Linked DNA regions of Homo sapiens: all the other regions are linked to region 1. The links are contacts of gene promoters, found by promoter capture Hi-C in human tissues and cell types (Jung and others, 2019). All regions are on one chromosome and are shown on one strand. The core of a region is centred on a gene start or on the middle of the fragment in contact, and the rest is flanking DNA. Distances in the headings are between cores, read along the strand shown.

Evidence for each region. Contacts are between HindIII fragments. The study calls those that stand out against the background at their distance.
Region 2: a fragment that was not itself captured here is called in contact with the fragment with the promoter of ELK3 in region 1 in 1 of the 25 tissues and cell types used here (heart left ventricle).
Region 3: a contact is called between a fragment that was not itself captured here and the fragment with the promoter of ELK3 in region 1, in 1 of the 25 tissues and cell types used here (mesendoderm cells).
Region 4: a fragment that was not itself captured here is called in contact with the fragment with the promoter of ELK3 in region 1 in 1 of the 25 tissues and cell types used here (adrenal gland).
Region 5: a contact is called between a fragment that was not itself captured here and the fragment with the promoter of ELK3 in region 1, in 1 of the 25 tissues and cell types used here (mesenchymal stem cells).

Annotation. Positions count from the first base shown.
Region 1 is chr12:96,193,106-96,195,635 of GRCh38, reverse strand. ELK3 (ETS transcription factor ELK3) reads right to left here and starts at 1,261. Exons shown (of 5, transcript NM_005230.4): 1 at 931-1,261. RefSeq lists a silencer at 1,297-1,436. The HindIII fragment of the contact is 13,150 bases long and covers 1-2,530 here.
Region 2 is chr12:95,743,167-95,745,696 of GRCh38, reverse strand. All of the region lies in intron 2 of NTN4 (netrin 4), which reads left to right. Among named protein-coding and RNA genes, the nearest start is that of NTN4, 46 kb to the left of the region's middle. The HindIII fragment of the contact is 7,840 bases long and covers 1-2,530 here.
Region 3 is chr12:96,562,031-96,564,560 of GRCh38, reverse strand. CFAP54 (cilia and flagella associated protein 54) reads right to left here. Exons shown (of 68, transcript NM_001306084.2): 18 at 7-93. Among named protein-coding and RNA genes, the nearest start is that of CFAP54, 74 kb to the right of the region's middle. The HindIII fragment of the contact is 4,172 bases long and covers 1-2,530 here.
Region 4 is chr12:95,849,989-95,852,518 of GRCh38, reverse strand. All of the region lies in intron 1 of SNRPF-DT (SNRPF divergent transcript), which reads left to right. Among named protein-coding and RNA genes, the nearest start is that of SNRPF-DT, 7.6 kb to the left of the region's middle. RefSeq lists cis regulatory regions at 1,433, 2,356 and enhancers at 1,361-1,505, 2,284-2,428. The HindIII fragment of the contact is 5,987 bases long and covers 1-2,530 here.
Region 5 is chr12:96,454,953-96,457,482 of GRCh38, reverse strand. No RefSeq gene overlaps it. Among named protein-coding and RNA genes, the nearest start is that of CFAP54, 33 kb to the left of the region's middle. The HindIII fragment of the contact is 6,305 bases long and covers 1-2,530 here.

The DNA of each region.
Region 1 (2,530 bases), core at 12-2,511:
CTGAAATAACATTTCTTGCTTCCACCTCCACCCGCCGCCTAACTGCAGCTTGTCCCTAGGATGATTCGGTTCAGAAAAGATAACAAAACCAAGACCTTTTATTTTTGCTTTTTAACTACTCCAAAATCTTAATCCCGCCTCCCCAAAAGTTACAGTAGCGTCACAGGCCAACGTTGAGTTCGAAGGTAAACAGGGATGGGGAGTGGAAGGGGCCCCAAGATCATTTCTTGCCTGGTCCTTCTCCAAAACCATGCCCAATAGAGACCACCGGCTTTTAAATGTCCGATGGGGCGTGCGCCTGGGGCGGTGACCTGGGCGGGGGTCACCTGCCAAGCGAGAGTGGACGCAGCCCCCAGCCCCACACCTTCGCGACCCATGTCCTCCACCGCCCTCTCCATCCCTGTCTTCCTCCCTGGATCCGAGCACCAGTGCACTTTGCCCACTCGAGGGGAGCCTGACTGCGGTCCCAGCTGGAAGGTCGGCGGTGGTCCAGCCTCCAGGCACTCAGCCTGCTCCTGCCACGGTTCTTCCCAGGGACCCGAAGTCTCGCCGTCCCCCGCTCCCCGCGCTGCCTGCAGCGGGGCCCTGGGCGAGCTCCCAGGGTTGCACGCCCGGCGCCCCTTCCTCTGGGGTCGCAGCGCAGCCCCAGGGAGGGGAGCCGCGGGCGCAGGGTCCCCGCAGCCCCGGGCCCGGCGCGAGCTCGGGCGACGGCGGTGGCAGCGACGCGGGCGCAGGAGCATCCGCGGCGCCCCCTCCCCGCGGCCGGCCCTCCCGCGCGGACGCACCGCCACCCCCACCCCGGCCCGCAGCCCACCCCGCGGCGCCCCCCGCCCCACCCCCACCGCGCCCAAGAAAAGAAAGAAAAAAAGAAAACACCCCCAAACAAACTTTTTAAGTGTCCGAGCAACAGGCAGAAGCCCTGTTACCTACCCAGATGTGGGGGAGTCTTCTTCGGGGGGAATTTCTAGGAGGACCCGGGCGAAAGCCCCCGACTTTCCATGCTGACAGGCGTCTGCAGACGGTCTGTGGCTCTTGTAATGAGATCCTGATTTTTCCCCCTTTTTTTCTTTCTCTCGCTCCTCTTTTTTTTTCCCCTCTGGTGTGTGTGAGAGCAGGAAGTTGGAGCAGTCAGGCCGAGCCGGCTCACTTCCTTTACTGCATTATTCCCCAGGCGGTGTGCAGTCTGTGTAAACAGGCTTTTCCGCCCCGCGCCGCGCGCCCCGGCCGCGGCTGTGCGCCGGGGCTGGCCGCCCAGGCCCGCGCCTCCCCCGCCGCCCCGGCCCCGTGCGCGCCCCGCACCGCCCCCACCCGCCCCGCTTCCTGCGCGGCCACCCCGGGGAGGAGCCTCCGACCCGCGGCGACTCCGCGCGGCCGCAGCCCCTCCCCACGGGGAGGGGGGTCCGCCCGCAACCCGCAGAAGCCGCCGCGCTTCCCGGGACACCGGGGATCCCTCCTCACCTCAACCCCTGGGGGTCGAGCGCGCGGGGCACCACGACGGGGTCGTGCCCTGCGCAGTTGGCCCGGGAGGGGGGTCCCGAGGTGGGGAGGCGGCTGGACTCGCTGTTTCCCATCCGCTGGGATGGAAGAGTTGGGGGGCAGAGGGGAATCGAGAGTGGGGTTCAGGGTTTGGTTGCTCTGGGCAAAGGACTGCTTTTCTTGTGGGTGCGGGCACAGTTTCCGTCTGGGGTTGGAGATGGACACCGTTCCTGTCTGGGTTTTCGGTGTTTTAAAAGCCAGCCCTCGGCCGGGCGTGCTGGCTCACGCCTGTAATCTGAGCACTTTGGGAGGCCAAGGCGGATGGATCACCTAAGGTCAGGAGTTCGAGACCAGCCTGGCCAACACGGCGAATCCCCGTCTGTACTAAAAATACCAAAACAACAACAACAAAAACAGCCAGGTGTGGTGGTGGGTCCCTATAATCCCAGCTACTTGGCAGGCTGAGGCGAGAGAATCGCTTGAACCTGGGAGGCAGAGGTTGCAGTGAGCTGAGATCGCCCCATTGCACTCCAACCTGGGCAACCAGCGAAACTCCGTCTCAAAAAAATAAAAAAGCCAGCCCTCAGTTGGGGGGCGAGCCTGTGGGGAAAGGATAAGGAGCCACAACACTGGAAGTCATGGAAATAATGCCCGCAGGGTCAGAGACTGAGGCTTGAAGGGAGCCTCTGTGGTCTCAGAACTGGTCTTCACACCTCCACATCCCTCAAGGAGGTCCTGCCTCTGAGGGCTCAGGCCAGGCTCTGATGGGAGAGCCTGCCCATTGCCCTAGGCTGAGACAAGGTTGGGGGGGATGGCTGTTGAAGAGCCTCTCCCTTCCCAGGCCTGCGCCCCAACCTCACTGCTCACCTTCCAGAACCTTCCATTCCCATGCCGCCACTTAGCAGCCCAGACCCCTGGTTTTCAAACTTGACCCAAGGGGCTTGTTAAACCACTAGTGGCTGGGCCTCTCCTGGAGTCCCAGATTCAGTAGGTCGGGGGTGGTTCCGGGCCCCGGCTAATGTCAGAATCACCTGGGGAGTGTTTTGACACTCTC
Region 2 (2,530 bases), core at 12-2,511, 450 kb after region 1:
ACCTGCAAAGAAACAGAGAATACAACTCATAATAAAAAGAAAAACAAATCAATAGAAACAGACACAGAAATGACACAAATGATACAGTTAGTAGCTGAGGACTTTAAAACAGTTATTATCACTGTATTTCTTATGTTCAAAAGGTGGAAGAAAGATGGAGCACATTAAGCAGAGGCAAGGAAAAGATAGCAAAAAAAAGTTGAATGACCATTTTTGAAGATTCTGATGCCTGAGATGAAAAATACATACCAAACAGGATTAGTAGACTAGACATTGTAGAAGAAAAGATTAGTGACGTTTAATACGTAGCAATAGAAATGACCCAATATGAAACACAGGGAGAAAAAAAAGCCAGAAAAAGAAATAAATATAGCATTAGTGAGCTCTGGGACAGCTTCAGGCAATTTGGTACATGTAGTTGGAACCAACAAAGGAAAGAAGGGAGAGGAGGGGAACAAAAATTTTTAAGAAATAATGGTTGAAATTTTTCTAAATTTTATAATAACTATAAATCCATGGATCCAAGAAGTGCAACAAACCTTAAACACAAGAAACAAGAAGAAATCTACTCCAAAACACATAACAATCAAATTGTTTAAAAAGCAATGGTAAAAAGAAAACCTTAAAAGCAGCCAGAGAAAAAAATGGCACATTACGTACAGAGGAACAAATCTAAGAATGACAAAAGCTTTTTGTTGGAAACAACGTAAGCCTGAAGACAGCGGAGGCAGAAACTTTTAAAGTGCCGAAAGAAAAAAAGAAGTCAACTTAGAATTCTATACCCAGCAAAAAATATTTTACAAAAATGAAGATGAAGTCAAGACTTTTTCAGACATAAAGAAGCCAAAAAAAAAAAAAAAAAAGTTTTTCACCAGCAGATTTGCATTGAAGGAAATCCTTCAGACAGAAGAAAAATGATACCAGATGGATATCTGGACCTACAAAAAGGAATGAAGATCATCAAAAAGGAAAAGTAGGTGAATACATGTGAAATGCCTTTTTATATTTCTAAAATCTCTTTAAAGATAATTAGTTGGCTTTTTAAAGCCAAGGTATTAACAGTGTGTTGTGGAGCTTATAACATATACATAGAGGTAATATGGATGACAACAGTGCAAAGGTTGAGGGGAGGAAATGAGAGTATACTCTTCTTAGTTTCTTATACTATATGTGAAGTGGTAAATATCATCAATCACATTAAATGTAAAAGGTGTAAATATCCCCATTAAAGGCATAGATTATAATATTGGACAAAATTTTTGAAAAAGATTAGGTATGCTGCCTATAAGAAGCTCACTTTAAATATAAAGATATAGCTAAGTTAAAAGTAAAAGGATAAAAAAAGATATACCCTACTAATACTTTAAAAGAAAGCTCGAGTGGCTATATTACTATCAAAGTAGATTTTAGATCAAAGAATATTGCCAAGGATAAAAAGGGACATACACTGATAAAACAGTCACTTCATCAAGAGGATATAACAATCCTCCATGTTGGCGGGGCACGGTGGCTCAGGCCTGTAATCCCAGCACTTTGGGAGGCTGAGGCAGGTGGATCACCTGAGGTCAGGAGTTGAAGACCAGCCTGGCCAAGATAGTGAAACCCCATCTCTACTAAAAATGCAAAAATTAGCCGGGCGTGGTGGCAGGAGCCTGTAATCCCAACTACCTGGGAGGCTGAGGCATGAGAATCACTTGAACCCAGGAGGTGGAGGTTGCAGTGAGCCAAGATCGCGCTACTGCCCTCCAGCCTGGGGGACAAGAGTGAGACTTCATCTCAAAAAACAAAAAGCAACAATCCTCCATGTTTATGTACCCAACAACAGGGCTTCAAAATACATGAAGCAAAACCTGAAGGGAGAAATAAAATAAGTTGATAATTATAGCTGGATATTTCAATACTTTTTCAAGGATACAAGGTGCATTATCAAGACAGAACATATACTGAGTCATAAAACAAGTATTGATAAATGTAAAAGGATTCATATCATACAAAATATGTTCTTTGACCACAATGAAATTAAGTTAGAAATCAATAACAGGAAGGTATCTGGGAAATCCCCAAATAACTGGAGTAAACACACTTTTTATTCCAGTTATTCAAAGAAGAAATCAAAAGGAAATCAGGAGTATTTTGAAATTGAATGGAAATGAAAACACAGCGTATCAAACTTCGGGGGGATGCAACTGAAGAAGTACCTAGGGAAAAAGAAACATCTCAAATCAATGATCTTCAAGTCCAACAGAGCTTAAAAGTAAAATTCACTGCTTAGTGAATTATTTTTAAAAAGTCAAATCAATGATCTAAGTTTTCCCTTTAAGAAACTAGTAAAAGAAGAGCACATTAAACACAAAGTAAGCAGAAGAAAGTAAATAATAAAGATAAAAGCAGAAACCAATGAAAAAGAAAAACAGAAAAACAATAGAGAAAATCATTAAAACAAAAAGCTGCTTCTTTAAGAATGTGAGGATGTGTCTAGTATCTTAAGAACTGTTAAAGAACAAATGCAGTTATGTTCCTGAAGTTGCTA
Region 3 (2,530 bases), core at 19-2,518, 370 kb before region 1:
AATTACCTGTAAAACAATCAGTGCTTCCAGATTGTTTTAACTTTTCCGGACCCTTGGTAGAAATATCTTTGCTAACAGTTGGAGTCTGCAAAACTGAAGAAGAAGACGACTGTCATAACAATTAAGTATGTATCCAAGAGAGGAAATATTTTTTAAATACTAAGGAGTAACTATTCATAAAGCTACTGCTTCCTCTGTCATGTCATTTTTTTCATTAATAGATAAAAATTCATATAAATCTACTATAATGCAGTTTTATCAAATCCTCTTTTATTTGCCACAGTATACCTCAGGACAGAAGAAATTCCAAATTATAAAAATATTTGATTTTCTATCTCATCTTGAATAAAGTCATCCTGAGGATTGATAGAATCCAACCTACTTCTGTTGACTTTACCTTTTCACAGAAGTACAGATGGCAAGTCCTGATACCAATACCAATAAGCTGTCAAACTCTGTCCTCAACACCCCTTCTAGAAAAACTGTTTCATCCAAGGTCCCTTTAAGAGCTCTGGGTAACACACGAAGACCTCCACTATCTTCCAGCTGTGGCTGATGAAATCAGAGCCTGTCTCAAGATTTTGAACTAAAACATGAACTTGCCAGTTGTTGATACTGGTATACAATTGGGACTGACCATCATGGTGGTTCAGTAAAGACAGGAATGTGGATGAGGGGAAAAAAGGATACAACTATATACAACTATACTAGCCCAGGGAGATGGAAACTGTAGCACTGATTCTTGATTTTCAGGTCTGGTGCTTAAGAGACCTGGTAGTATTTTGGTCCTTGGAGATATGCGAGGGTAGCTATAGTAACCTTACAATAAACCCCTTTTACTGAGTTTTAATTATTTGTGCTAATGCACATGAGCCACCATGTGATAGTAATTGATTCGTGAAAAGATGTTAACATACACCATTGAAGAATAGAAGGCATCTGCAGTGGCAAAGGGTAAGGAAACATCTGCATGGAGATAGCAATGCAGAGCAGAAAATAGTGCATCATTCTCTCAATACCAAGGATATTATAAATGCTAATTAAGCTTTCCTGATTATAATCGTTGGAGATAAGAAGGATGAGACTGCAAAAAAATTCTGAATGCCAAATACAGATGCATCATATTTATGTCATGGACATCAACAGGCAACCATTATTGAATAAGAATGCTAATGTAGGGAACATCAGTCTGGCAACAGCATGCTAAAGAAAGACAAGGTAGGGGAACAAAGTGATCAGCTGTGCTAGGATGGCAATTCAATAAAGCCAAGAAAAAATTCAAGGAAACCCAGAGATATTGCAAGGAAATAATAACTAATTCCATTTACATCTGAACTCAAGTCTTGCATCAATATCTTTAAGTGGTCTATGATCAAAACTCATTTGGTCTTCAAAGATTTATGGATGACAATTAGAGAACGAGGTATTAGGAACTCCATGAGTTTAAAAAAAAACTCTAATCCTCCACTAAAGGAAATAATACAGTTACTATGTGAGAATCATGGGCTAGTTTCTTAAAACCTGACACAAAAATTCTATTTACATTTTGAAACATATTTCTAAACCAAATATTTTCAGCCCAAAACATGTTCAAGATTATTATGCTAAGTAATTCATTTATGTATTAGAAAAAACTTTATCAAATTTTCAATTTATACATGATGACACAGAGATATTTTAATTATTACTTGCTTCCCTCTACACCCAGCAGGTCATAGGAGAAGTAGTTTTTGAAACTATGTAAATGTTTAAAATAAAATGTAAAAAGATGAAGAGTATAAAAAAATAAAAGGATGGGGAAAAAAGGAAATTTTATATAAACAGAATACAGGCAGGGCATAGTGGCTCACACCTGTAATCCCAGCACTTTGGGAAGCCAAGGTGGGCAGATCGTTTGAGGTCAGGAGTTCCGAGACCAGCCTGGCCAACATGGCAAAACCCCATCTCTACTAAAAAAAATACAAAAATTAGCCAGGTGTGGTGGCACATGCCTGTAGTCCCAGCTACTTGAGAGGCTGAGGCAGGAGAATCACTTGAACCTCGGAGGCAGAGGTTCCAGTGAGCTGAGATAACGTCACTGCACTCCAGCCTAGGTGACAGAGGGAGACTGTCTTAAAAAAAAAAAAAAAAAAGAATGCAAATACAAAAAAAGGGTCACAAGTATGTATCAAATTGAAAAAAAAATTAAAAATAGAATTCAAGTAAATTTGGACACAGTTCTCTGATGTATGACATTTTCTAGAGACAAAATGAACTGCAAAGAAATCCTTAATTTACTTAGTAGGTTTTTAATAGTGGTATTGGTTTAATAATTTTGAAAGTAATTTGTTAATTTGCCAGGATAAAACAAATGAGTAATTACATTGATGTTGTTACGAACCAGAATGCTCAATATGGGAGAAGGAAAATACAAAAATGGAGAAGGTGAGGAGAAACCTTTTAGTGTTAGAATTGGAGATATCAAAAAGAACTTGTGGTCAGGCGCAGTGGCTCACACCTGTAATCCCAGCACTTTGGGAGGCCGAGGCAG
Region 4 (2,530 bases), core at 20-2,519, 340 kb after region 1:
TCTGAATGGAGTGAGGAGAACATCCACATAAGAGAGCAGCCAGTGTGGGGTGTCAGAGCCTGAGCAGGAGGAGGAAGGTATCTACATAGGAGGGCAGGCAAACATGGGAAGTTGGTGCCTGAGGAGGTGAGGATGGTGATCACGCATGGCGAGGGGCAGCCCAGCACCAGCCATTGGAGCCCAAGTAGGATGAAGCATCCCCAGAGGGTGGCCTGACAGGGAGTGTTGGAGCCTGAGTGGGGTTAAGAGGGTGTCCACACTGCGGGGAAGAGGGTGGCCTGCTGTGGAGTGTCAGAGCCTAAAGGAAGCAAGGAGGATGTCCATGCAGAATGACCTGGCACACGGTGTCAGAACCTGAATGGAATGAAGAAGAAATGCAGGGGAGGGGACAATGGCAGGAAGGGAAATTTGTTACAAGGGCACTAATCAAAGGAATCAACCTATAATAATGAGCATACTTAATGCTCAGGTTTTAGTTTCTAGAAACTGCTTCCCACTAAAGGAATCAGGATCCCTTCGAACATTGGCTATTTTCAGTCTTCTTCACTATAGTAACTGGTAGACACCATCTTATTACAATCCAGTGATCAAACAACTATCGTTAGCAACTGGAAAATCAAAATCAGGTGCCACATGATAAGATGCAAAGAAAAGATGCATTCTGTGATATTCTTACCAAAGCCACATAACCTGAATCTAGTAATCAGGAAATATCAGACAAACCACATTGAGGAACAAAGTGGCCTGCAATGTTCAAGAGTGTCAAGGCCACAGAAAGATCTCCATGATAAATTGCTGAGAAAGACAAGGCACCGAATAATTTGCAAAATATGCTGCCTCTGTATAAAAAGAGAAAGAAGGGGATAACAAGCTATCCATTTCTGTGTATGTGCATAAGTATACTGGAGGGCTCCTAAGATACTAAGAACACGGGTTGCCTATGGGTGTAGTGGGAACTACACTGAGGGCAGACAATGATGAGATGTTTCACTATGCATTTTTTAAAAACTTTTAATTATGAAATTCACATATTAACCATTTCAAAGTATACAATTGAGTGGCATATAGTACATTCACAATGTTATTGCAACCACCACCTCTATATAATTCCAAAACATTTTTGCAAGTTCATTTATTTGTTTGTTTGTTTTGGGATGGAGTCTCGCCCTGTCACCCAGTTTGGAGTGCAGTGGTGCAGCCTCGGCTCACTGCTAACCTCCGTCTCCTGGGTTCAAGCGATTCTCCTGGTTCAGCCTCCTGAGTAGCTGGGATTATAGGCACATGCCACTACACCCAGCTAATTTTTGTATTTTTAGTACAGACGGGGTTTCACCATGTTGGCCAGGCTGGTCTTGAACTCCCGACCCCAAGTGATCTGCCTGCCTCGGCCTCCCAGAGTGCTGGGATTTCAGGCATGAGCCACTGTGCCCAGCCCATTTTCACAACTTTAAAAGAAAACTCTGTAGTCATTAAGCAGTTCCTCCCTATCTTCCTTCTCTCCTAGCCCATGGCAACCCTCAGTCTGCTTTCTATCTCTATAAATTTACCTGTTTTGGATATTTCATATAAATAGAAACAACATGTGACCTTTTATATCTGGCTTTCACTAAGTGTAATGTCTCTGAGCTTCACCCACATTGTAGCTTGTTGTAGTAGTAGTACTTCATTCCTTTTAATGTATGAGTATGATTCCACTGTATGTATATACCACATTTTGTTTATCCCTGCACCTGTTAATGGACATTTGGGTTGTTTCCACCTTTTGGCTACTGTGAATTTTGCTGCTATGAGCATTTGTGTACAAGTATTTGTTTGAATACCTGTTTTCAATTTCTTTGGACATATACCTAGGGGTGTGGAATTGCTGGGTCATATCATAATTTTACACAGAACTTTTTTTGAGGAACTGCCAAACTTTTCCACAGCAGCTGCGCCATTTTATATTCCCACCGGCAATGTATGAAGGTTCCAATTTCTCCACGTTCTCACCAACAATTTGTTATTTTCCGTTTTTGTTGTTGTTTTAATTATAGCCATGCTAGTGGCTATAAAGCAGTATCTCATTGTGGTTTTGATTTGCATTTTCCTAATGACTAATGATGCTGAGAATCTTTTCATTTGCTCATTGGCCATTTGTATATCTTCTTTGGAGAAATATCTGTTCAAATCCTACATACCCTTTTAATGTTCTATTTTTGGAACTTTTGAATGTATTGCCTACTAAAATAAAAGAAAAAGTCATTTAATTGTCTTGGATCTTATTTTCTTCCTTTATACACTGTAGGGATTGGGCTAGATCAGAGTTTTCAACCTTGATATTATTGACATTTTGGACCAAATAATTCTTTTTTCTTTATTTTTCTTTTTTTCTTTTTTTGAGACCCCGTTTTTTTGAGACGGGGTCTCTCTCTCACCTAGGCTGAAATGCAATGGCTCAATCTTGGCTCACTGCAACCTCCACCTCCCGGGCTCTAGTGATCCCCCCATCTCTGCCTCCCAAGTAGCTGGAACCACAGGTGTGCACCACCAT
Region 5 (2,530 bases), core at 15-2,514, 260 kb before region 1:
GTAACTCCAGTTTCTAGAACAATGCCTGACACTTAGGAGGTGCTTGAAAATATTTGTTGAATGAGTAATTCTACTTAACTCCCTTGAAGCTTCAAAGCATCTTGGGGCCAGGTGTGGTGGCTCATACCTATAATCCCAACACTTTGGGAGGGCAAGGGGAGAGGATGACTTCATCCCAGGAGTTTGAGACCAGCCTGGGCAACAAAGTGAGACTCCATTTCTACAAAAAATAAAATCATTAGCCAGGCATGGCAGCATGCACCTATAGTCCTTGCTAGTCTGGAGGCTGAAGTGGGGGGATCACTTGAACCCAGGAGTTTGAGGCTGCAGTAAGCTCTGATCGCACCACTGCACTCCAGTAGAGAACTAGGCCTTGTGTTTTAAAAAATAAATAAATAAATAAATGAAAAGCATCTTGGGCTCAAGGAGCTTCTTTATTGTTCCATAACAGCTAGCAACTCTCACACTCTGTCCATTTCATCATCACCTGGAAATGCCCCACCTCTGAAATTGTAAACCCCACAGACATTTGCTCCAGTTATTAATTCCTTTTTCTCTCTTTCTCTGGTACATTCTCTACTGCCTTACTCCCAGCAGCCCAGGATTCTAATCGTAACACAAATGCTCCACCAATTCCATCTAATGGTTTACCTCTCACTTCCCTCTATGGCTAAGGTTAGTAAAAGGGTAGCTGATACCCCACTAGTTTCATTTCCCCTTCTCCCACTCTCTTTCAACCCAGGCACTCTGGCATCAGTTTCCACCACTCTACCAAAACTGCCTTTGCCAACGTCACCACCCCACGATCCCATCACATTGTAAAAAAAAATTTAACTTACTTAAAAAAAAGTACTCTAATACCAAGTGTTAGGAATATATGGGAAAACAAGAACTTTTATACGGCTGGAGTAAAAATTGGTACACCAGCCTGGGCAACAAAGTGAGACCTCATCTCTACAAAAAAAAACAAAAAACAAAAAACAAAAAACATTAGCCAGGCATGGTAGTACATGCCTGTGGTCCCAGCAACACAACAAGTTGAGGCAGGAGGATCACTTGAGACTAGGAAGTCGAGGCTGCAGTGAGCCATAATCACACCACTGCACTCCAGCCTGGGTGACAGAGGGAGACCCTGTCTCAAAAAAAAAAGAAAAAAAAAGGAACAACCCATTTTGGAGAGCAATTGACAATTGACAATATCTACAATATCTGGCACAGTTAAAAACATGAATTACCAGAAACATATTCTGCTAGAGAAACTGTCCTACGTGAACACAAGAAGACATATGTATGAATGTTTGTCACAGCATTGCTTATAATAGCAGAAATTTGGTGGGACGCAATGGCTCACACCTGTAATCCCAGCACTTTGGGAGGCCGAGGCAAATGGATCACGAGGTCAGAAGTTTGAGACAAGCCTGACCAACATGGTGAAACCCTGTCTGTACTAAAAATACAAAAATTAGCCGGGCGTGGTGGCAGGCGCCTGTAATCCCAGTTACTCAGGAGGCTGAGGCAGGAGAATGGCGTGAACCTGGGAGGCGGAGGTTGCAGTGAGCCAAGATCGCATCATTGCACTCCAGCCTGGCCACATAGAGCATGACTCTGTCTCGGAAAAAAAAAAAAAAAAAAGCAGAAATTTGGAAATTACCTAGATGTCCATCCATTGTGGTAGAGACTTGTTTCTTAAACTTCCCCTTCCCCTTCTTCATCAGTAATAGAACAATCAAATTTGAGGCATGTGGTCACTTAGAATGAAAATTCCTCTTCCCACTCTCCTTTATAGCTGATAATTATAGCTGATAATGTGATTAAGTTTTCACCAATTGGTGTAAGCAAAATGGGGGAATGAGGCTTCTTCCCTTTCTCCCTTGTACTGTAGTAATGCAGATGTGTTCACTAGAGGTGGAATGACCACCTTGAATTTTGAGGTGACTTTGTACATAAAGGCCTATGCACAGTGGAGTAACAAGATTGAGGAAGCTAGGGTCCCTAAACTTAGGACACTCCATACCATCCCTGGAAAACCATCTTTAGGCCAGGCATGGTGGCTCACACCTGTAATCCCACCACTTCGGGAGCCTGAAGCGGACAGATCACTTGAGGCCAGAAGTTCAGGACCAGCCCGGCCAACATGGAGAAACCCCGTCTCTACTAAAAATACAAAAATTAGCCAGGTGTGGTGGCAAATGCCTGTAATCCCAGCTACTTGGGAGGCTGAGGCAGGAGAATCACTTTAACCTGGGAGGCGGAGGTTGCAGTGAGCCGAGATCTGAGATCGCACCACTGCACTCCAGCCTGAGCGACAGAGCTAGACTCCAGCTCAAAAAAAAAAAAAAAAAAAAAAAAAAAAAAAAACAAAGAAAAGAAAACCATCTTTAGACATACACACAAGAGAGAGAAAATTTTCTTATCAACACTGTTATTTTGTTTTTTTCAGTCATCTTTGGCCAAACTTAATCTTAACATTGAAATCAATGTATTCATAATATGGACTCCAGAAAAACAATAAATAGACAAACACACAAGA